3 separate regions of the Homo sapiens genome follow, and regions 1 and 2 are each linked to region 3. Evidence: promoter capture Hi-C in 16 types of primary human blood cells and fetal thymus (Javierre and others, 2016). All regions are on one chromosome and are shown on one strand. Each heading gives the region's core, a stretch centred on a gene start or on the middle of the fragment in contact. The rest is flanking DNA. Distances are from core to core; before and after follow the strand shown.

The links. The method cuts DNA at HindIII sites, captures the fragments that hold promoters and counts their contacts. A CHiCAGO score of 5 or more calls a contact.
Region 1: the fragment with the promoter of SLC22A7 here is called in contact with the fragment with the promoter of TJAP1 in region 3 in 1 of 17 cell types (erythroblasts); the score reaches 5.7 in erythroblasts.
Region 2: a contact is called between a fragment that was not itself captured here and the fragment with the promoter of TJAP1 in region 3, in 3 of 17 cell types (activated CD4 T cells, erythroblasts and naive B cells). The highest score is 6.1, in activated CD4 T cells.

What each region holds. Positions count from the first base shown.
Region 1 is chr6:43,296,942-43,299,641 of GRCh38, reverse strand. It overlaps SLC22A7 (solute carrier family 22 member 7), which reads right to left and starts at 1,382. Exons shown (of 11, transcript NM_153320.2): 1 at 891-1,382; 2 at 545-550; 3 at 149-252; 4 at 1-15. The coding sequence starts at 1,283. It overlaps LOC124901319 (a long non-coding RNA gene), which reads left to right. Exons shown (of 2, transcript XR_007059582.1): 2 at 1-700. The HindIII fragment of the contact is 22,683 bases long and covers 1-2,700 here.
Region 2 is chr6:43,315,833-43,318,532 of GRCh38, reverse strand. No RefSeq gene overlaps it. Among named protein-coding and RNA genes, the nearest start is that of CRIP3, 8.4 kb to the right of the region's middle. The HindIII fragment of the contact is 699 bases long and covers 1,011-1,709 here.
Region 3 is chr6:43,476,128-43,478,851 of GRCh38, reverse strand. TJAP1 (tight junction associated protein 1) reads right to left here and starts at 1,282. Exons shown (of 11, transcript NM_001350562.2): 1 at 1,224-1,282; 2 at 620-765. RefSeq lists an enhancer at 139-932. The HindIII fragment of the contact is 14,243 bases long and covers 1-2,724 here.

The DNA.
Region 1 (2,700 bases), core at 133-2,632, 180 kb after region 3:
CGCCGCCGCCCAAACCTGCAAAGGGGTCATGCAGGGTCAGTTCCCTGTGGAAGGAGGTTCTAAGGCATAGGTAGACTAGGCTCATACCCCAGCTAGTGGGAGAAAGTTCCCCCAGCCAGTTTCTTATTGGCCCAGTGCCTCACCCCACCTGTCGGACAGATATCCAAAGGCCACAGCCCCCACCAGCACACCGGCGAAGAAGAAAGTGGACGCAGCTCTGTTCAGACCTTTCTGCTCACACACCAGATCCCACTGCAAGGACAGGCAGAAAGGGACCTCCTATGAACATCAGCCCCTCTCCAGCAGGCACCAGCTCCTCCTCTCCAGACCCTGGAGCCTTCTGAGGCGAACTCTGCCATTCTGGTACCTCCATGCCAGATAATAAACCTCCCAACGATTCACGCCAGCTTGGGGAATAGGAAACTTTGTCCCTCCCCAGTCCTGCAGCCTCAGCTTCTTCCCAAGGAAGGCCTCGACCTGCTGCCTCCCAGGGAGACTGCCTCCACCGACATTCCACCTCCAGATGGATTATGTAAATACCGACCTGGGACTGGAAAAGAGGAAGGGAGAAAAGAAGGCCTCTATTGTTTCTCCACCTCTTGCTGCAGAAATTGCCTTCTCAGCTCTTTGTCTCAACTCCCTGAAGCCACTTTAGCCCTTCCCTGCCTTAATCACCTCCCAATTAATGATGATGATAACAGTTCTTGTGTAGGATCCTGTTACTACAAGCCATGAACTAAAAGTGCCTTATATTCATAGCCCCCATCTACAGATTGGTAAACTGAGACTTTAAGAGGTAAAGTAATACATCTAATGCCTACACAGTAACCACCCAAGGCAATGGCAGGCCCATCCCTCTCACATGTCTCTCAACTTCTGGGCTTAAGTACCTCAGTTGCAATGGTAGAGGAGAATTCTGAGTGGTCGTACTCCCAGCCCTGAGAGCAGGGCACTGTGGCAGGTTCATCCTCCAGCTCCCCACGGCTCTGCCTTTCTTCCCCCAACGTGGTGTTGGGGAGAGCCTGGGGATAGGCAAAGCGGAGGCAGGAGCTGAGCGTGCCATCAGGCTCCCGGGGAAGATGGGCCTCCAGCCACACATCCTGATGGCTGAAGTTGGCAGGGGCACCCGGCAGGGCACATCGGTGGGCAGGCACGGCAGCCAGGAAGATGGGCAGGAGGAAGTGCAGTGGTAGCAGCACTCGGGGCAGGGCCAGCAGTGCCACATTCCGCAGTTGGAAGGGCCCAAAGCCGCCCACCTGCTCCAGCAGCTCCTCAAAGCCCATGCTGCTCACCCACCAAATGCTTCAGGTGCAGCCTCCCTCTAGTATCCAGCCAGCTCAAACTGCCCACCACATAGACCCTTGGACTCTGGAGGTGGGAGTGGATGGACTGGAGAGCCTGCAGCCAGAATCCAGCCCTCAGGGGCTGGCCCAGGACTGGGCCCTCCCCAGCCATCAGGTCTCCAGGGACCTCTACCTGTCTTGCCTGGTGCCTGGGGGAAGGGGAAGCCATCCATTCAGAGGTCACTGGCTCGTGGCTCTGGGGCTTACCCATTAGTGTTCAGGGACCAAGGCTACCATGATGAGGTAGCTGGGTGATGGCATAGGAGGTGAGCCCCTAGCCCCTTGGTCAGCAGAGCTCCCAGGATCCCTAAGAAGAGGAGGCCCCTGGGGCCTGGGGCCAGCTCTCCCAGGGTGCCCTTTGTCCTGTGAGACCTTAGGTCAGCCTTGCCTATTTGCAGCTACAGCCATGGCCTGGCCGACAGCCCAGGATTCAGGACTGAAAGCTGGATCCTAACCAGGTTTCTTTCTGCTGAGCCATGAGGCCTCCTCGCATCCCTCTCCCCTGCTGGGAGCTGATGCCCTGGCCTAAGACACACCTGTGATCACACCGGGCAACTTGATGTCTCTGAGGATCCCAGGCTCATCCCATTCCCACTTCACTCAGGGACTCTCCCCATACATATGGTTCCAACTGCCTGTCCCATTCCCCTATTTCCAGCAGCTTCCTAAATTACCTTTTGGAGGGATAGGGAATGGCGGGGGACATGTTGCCAAGGTACCTGCAATGCCTAAGATTACCTTTTGGAGGGGTAGGGAATGGGGGAGGGGGAGTTACCAAGGTCTTGTCAAAGGTACATGCAATACCTAAGACTCAAATGTTCAATCTGACCCTCCCACTCAATTCTCAATCATGGTCCCTGCAGCAAAAGTACAGCAGAAACCAGCAATGTCTGGTTTATTCTCATCTGATTCTCCAAACACTTAGCTGGCAGACCCACTGGTTTAATCCAGCTCCTACTTTGAACAGGTCAGAAAACTAAAGACAGGGAGGGGACCTGCTGGGGTCACACAATGACTCAGCAGCAGAGCTGAAGAAAAGACCAGGTCCCCTGACTCCAGACCAGGAATCTCACTTTTGACCTAAGCTGCTGAGCTGGTGATGTCCCAGTCTGCTCCAGGCTGGGATCCCTGAGAAAGCGCTGGGAAAGGAGCTAAATCGATGGCATGGCGTGTGTTAATGGGGGTGCTGACAGCCATGGAGTGAAGCAAGAGGCAGCTAATGGTGGTGGCAGTGACAGGGGGTGACAATGAGAAGAAATGTTTGAGTCTCTAGTGCATCCTCGCCATTCTAGAGGGTACATAGATGCCTCAGACACGGTCCCTACCCTTAGGGAGCTTACAGGAGGGTTAAAATAAG
Region 2 (2,700 bases), core at 111-2,610, 160 kb after region 3:
ATCAAAAGATCAGTGTTCAGTTTCTTGTCTCCACTAAGATGCTGCCTTCTTTTTTGGTAATAGGAGGGTAGAAATTACAAATAAGCGCTTTATAGCTCTGCCTGTTCCAAAAGCCCAGGAGAAGAAGAGGAAAAGCCCAATCATTTTGGATTTGGGAAGAGGGTGGAATTTGACTCCTGATTCTGTGACCTTGAGCTTCATAGAGGAAATGAAAGACTCCTCTATGGAAAGGTAAGCATTTGCATTTGTATGAATCACAAGATTAAACTGTTTTAGCCTCATTAACATAGCATTAACATAGTCTCATGACCTGTAAGGACTATTTTTGTATATTATTTAAAAATTACCCTCCAGACCTTAGCATGAAGATGAGGAAGTTACTAGGACTTTACGCCAACTCCACGGAGCATTGCCACCATCTATCAGATTTATAAGCAAGCTGACTACCAAGTTTCACTTCTTTCTATTCCTCCTCAGTTTCCAGCATATGGATACATTTTTCATGCTGCAAATTATTTGTAGGTAGTTATTTTTATATATTTTCAGATGAAATACACATTTCTAAGTGAATACTTGAAAAGCCAAATCCATCTTTGCATGAAAAACCATCGTTTAAAGATGTTATTGATTTCTTCGCAAACATAGGTTGAAGGCACTCATGGCAAAGGTTTAGGGTGTCCTTTCCTGCAGTCTTGATTCTGAATTAGTCTAGTTGATGCCACTGAATCACAAAATGTAGCCTACTCAATATCCCTAAGCAGCTAACCACTATTAGCTTTATACAGAGTACTCTCAACAGGTTCATGTAATGGCAAGATGATGCTGGAAAATGAGGGGGAAAAAAATTAAACAGACTCTTGCTAGAGCCATAAATGATGTTTATAACTATACAGCAGCAGTTCTCTGTGGGTGGGGTGATTAGTATGTTTTAAGAAAGCAAATTCAGTCTTTTTTTGTTTTGTGTGTGTTTCCCTTTTTAAAAAGTAATATAAACTACAGAAAGTAAAGCTTTGTAGTTGGAGCAGACATGCAGAAGATGCAATGAGAAAGCAAAAGGTTTATGGGTAGTAAGGATTAAGAAACACAACTATAAAGAAATAAGACTGATTTTTCATTAACTTACCAGAACTGAGTGATTTCCCTTTCAAAAGAGTTATCTAAGAACAAAGTTCTGGGTAATGCCTTAAAAGTCACAGGCATGGCCGGGCACAGTGGCTCACGCCTGTAATCCCAGCACTTTGGGAGGTCAAGGTGGGCAGATCACAAGGTCAGGAGTTCAAGACCAGCCTGGCCAACAAAGTGAAACCCCATCTGTACTAAAGATACAAAAAATTAGCCAGGCATGGTGGTGCATGCCTGTAATCCCAGCTACTTGGGAGGCTGAGGCAGGAGAATTGCTTGAACCCGGGAGGCAGAGGTTGCAGCCAGCCAAGATCACGCCATTGCACTCCAGCCTGGGTTACAGGGTGTGTCTCTGTCTCAAAAAAAAAAAAAAGTCACAGGCATATGACCATGTACTTGAACAAGCCTACAAAGACATAAATGGGTGGAGTTTGTTGTTGTAATCAAATTCACTGCAAAGCTAACCTGACACATAATAGCAGCCTTATTTATAAGGTTGCTTTATAGTTTACATAACACTTCCCCACATTCTCTTATTTGCCACATAATTAATGATAGACATAATTGTGCCACATGCTAATTAAGCTTAATTAGTAAGTTCTTATGAATGACTACAATTGGTGGGACTTGTTTGCTACCAAAAGCAAATTTTCAGTTCTCTATTTACTTAATTAGTTACCTACTATTTATAATCAGGATCAGTTAAGTTATATTTTCTGTTTTGTATCATACATGTTGATCCTCATGTATATTGAGAAACAAAACTCCTGGCGGGGCACAGTGACTCACAGCGCTTTGGGAAGCCAAGGCAGGAGGATCTTTTCAGGCCAGGAGTTCAAGACTAGCCTGGGCAACGTAGTGGAACCCCATCTCTACAAAAAATAAAAAATTAGCGAGGTACAGTGGCACATGGCTGTAGTCCTAGCTACTTAGGAGACTGATGGGGGGATTGCTTGAGCCCAGGAGTTCCAGGTTACAGTGAGCTGTGACCTGTACTCCAGCCTGGGTGACAGAGCAAGATCCTGTCTCTTGAAGGAAAAAAGGAAACAAATTCCTGAGACCTTATTCCTAGGCAGCTGAACTTCCTTCACTCCAGGACACTCGTTGTTACCAACTCTCAACCTCTACCAGTCCCCTCTTATTCCCACATCTCTCACTAGCACTCATCTATCACACTCAGGGGGACTTGTATATAACATGTAACATTCATTCACCAGCAAGTATTTGTTGAGCACTATGTGCCAGAGATTTGAGCAAGGCACTGGAAATATATGCAATGGTTGGCAAAGCAGCCTGGTCCCTGCTCTCATGGATCTCACAGACTAAGGGGGCAGACAAAGCCCAGATTGGAGTGGAGGAGGTAGGCAGGAAGTTACCATATTTATTTCACTTTCTAAACTACAACCTGTCCTTTATCAATAATAAAGATGATGGGCTGGGTGGTGGCTCATGTCTGTAATCCCAGCACTTTGAGAGGCCAAGGTGAGTGGATCACTTGAAGTCAAAAGTCCAAGACCAGCCTGGCCAACATGGTGAAACCTTGTCTCTACTAAAAATACAAAAATTAGCCGGGCATGG
Region 3 (2,724 bases), core at 33-2,532:
CATCAGTCCACTTGATCTCTTACCAGAAACTGATCTACATTTTTTCTCTCTAATCCCAACCTGCCTTTCCCTCACCTCTGATACCCCCACCAAAATCCACATCCCCAGAGGAACACTAATGAGCCCTTCTTACCAAAAAAGCAAAAGTAGACACACAGCGAGAATGAATTCAGGAGTCAGTGACAGCAGGTACCTAAATGGTCAGTGAACACGATCAGAATTTGTTTTCTCGTGACTCCCCACCATCTGTCACCCACAAATCTCCACTTCCAGGCAGGACGCCAAAGTGAAGAAGTGATGGGGATATTGAAGCAGAAACAATGAGCATGTAGGAAACTGCTTGTGACAGGGATGTGTTAACATCCTTCGGCCTGGTCTCTAGGCCTCTGTCCAGGTTTACTTGCATAGGTGAAGGCACACAAGGCTTAATTCTACACCAACTCTCAAAAGTCAGCCTGCAATCTACGCCAAACACTAACTTAAGGACCTCAGACAAAGGACAAACTCTATAAAAGTGAGCCCTTTTCAGACCAAATGTTTCTTGGCATCACTCTAAGCCCATGCATCCTCCTCCCAGGGAGCATGCCAGCCAGAAACCTGTCACTGGAAGCCACCTTACCCGCTCTGGGGTTGGACTGGGGCAAGTCGCTATCTCTTCTTCTTTCCAAGTAGGCACTGTAATTTCTTCCAGTCCCTGGGGCACCTGAATCTTCAGCTGAAATTGGGGCAGATGCTGCTAACAGCTGTGGAAAGGCTGATCTAAGCCTAGAAGAGGGTCATTTGACTGGCTTTAGTTCCCTCCTTAGCAGATCTGCCCGGCATCCTCCAGATCTCTCTTCCTCACTATCCCACTCTACTAGAAAGATCCCTTTCCCCTCTGGCCGGCCAGATACAGTCGGGCCTCTATCCCACGCTCCAGGCTTCTTTATTCGCGGCTAAGAAATTTTCCTCCAACTTGTGACTCTGCTTCTCCAGGGCCTGCACAACACCTACTTCTGGCTGCCCCGCCCCCAAATCCCCCTCCCCTAGGGCTGCCACTGGACCCTAGGGCCCCGGTCCGCCCCAGCTCCTTTTTTTCCTCTCCGCCTCGGACCTTACTCCATTCCATCTCCTCTTTTCAACCCTGGAGCCAGTACCCCCTTCGCCCCTACTACAGGCTAGGGCCCCCGCAATCCTCCCCAACTCTGGCTTCCCCGCCCGACTACTCCAACCCCACAACAAACTTTCCGCCGCTGCCAGCTGCGTTCAGGCCGCCATCTTGCCGCGGGGCAGGCCGGGTAGTGGCCAGGGCCGCGGGAATCCCCACGCACTTGGCGTGTCGCGTCATCTGAGGCGGGGCCATGGGGGCGGGGCCTCGGGTTGGGGAGGTGGGACACTAGGTAGGTGATGGTGAAAAATGGGGCTCTCCTGAAAGCAGGGATTGGAGGACTGGCCACAGAAGGAAGGAGGTGTCAGGAGCAGGGCAATAGCGGGAAGCGGGGAAAGAATCCAGTACTGAAAGAAAAAAAAAAAAAAAAAGAATAGGGGAACACATCTCAAAGATACAGTGGGAGAGAGAATCGTGCTACTGGTTCCCCGTCATCCAGAGAATAAAACCAGCTTTTCAGTTTGGCATTCAAAGATCCGCATGATCCAGGCTCTTCCACCTTCATCAGCCTCATTTTTTGCCTCTCCTGGGAACTTCAGGTTCCCAAATTGTCCTTTGTTTTCAGGACATCGGGCCTTAAGATGTCTAATCTCTCTCCTCCTCCTTTGCATCATCAATTCCTCCTATTCCTTCAAACCATCAGCTAAAATGTCACCTCCCCCAGAAAGATTTCCCTTTAGTGCTCCTTTTGCTGGGCATCACTAGCAACTTGTACATAGCTTTACTGTAGCTGTCCCGTGCAGTGTAATTATTTATTTACATGTTATACCACTTTTGCCCTGCTGCTTCTTCAGGGCAAAAACTATGTTTGATTGCATCTTCATACTCCCTAGCAGGTGCTTGGCACACAATAATTGCCTAATGAATAAATGGCATGTTTTCCTCCAATGCATTAAGCATATTTCTGCCTCAGGGTCTCTAAATTTGCTATTCCCCATACCTGGAATGTTCTTCCTCCAAATATTGACTCTCATTTGTGTCTTTGCTCAAGTGTCATCACTTTAGAGAAGCCTTCCTTGGCCACTCAATCTAAATCAGCATCCCTATTCTCCTTTACCCTGCTTTAATGTTTTCATTCATAGTACTTATCATTATCTGACATTATATTAAATATTTATTGTTTATTGATCATCTCCCCACTACAAAGCAAACTCCAGAGGTCTGGGATGTTTTCTTGCTCATCACAGTATCCCCAGTGTCTAAAACAATGCCTGGCATAGTAGGTATTCAATAGATTTTTTTTATTCTGTTTGTTTAATTAATTAATTAATTTTTGAGACAGGGTCTCACTCTGTTGCCCAGGCTGGAGTGTAGTGGTGCGATCTCGGCTCACTGCAACCTCCGCCTCCCGGGTTCAAGTGATTCTCCCACCTCAGTTTCCTGTGTAGCTGGGATTACAGGCGCATGCCAGCTAATTTTTTGTATTTTTAGTAGAGATGGGAGTTCCACCATTCCACCATGTTGGCCAGGCTGGTCTCGAACTCCTGACCTCAAGTGATCCACCTGCCTCAGCCTCCCAAAGTGCTGAGATTACAGGTGTGAGCCACTGCACCGGCCAGTAAATATTTATTGAATGA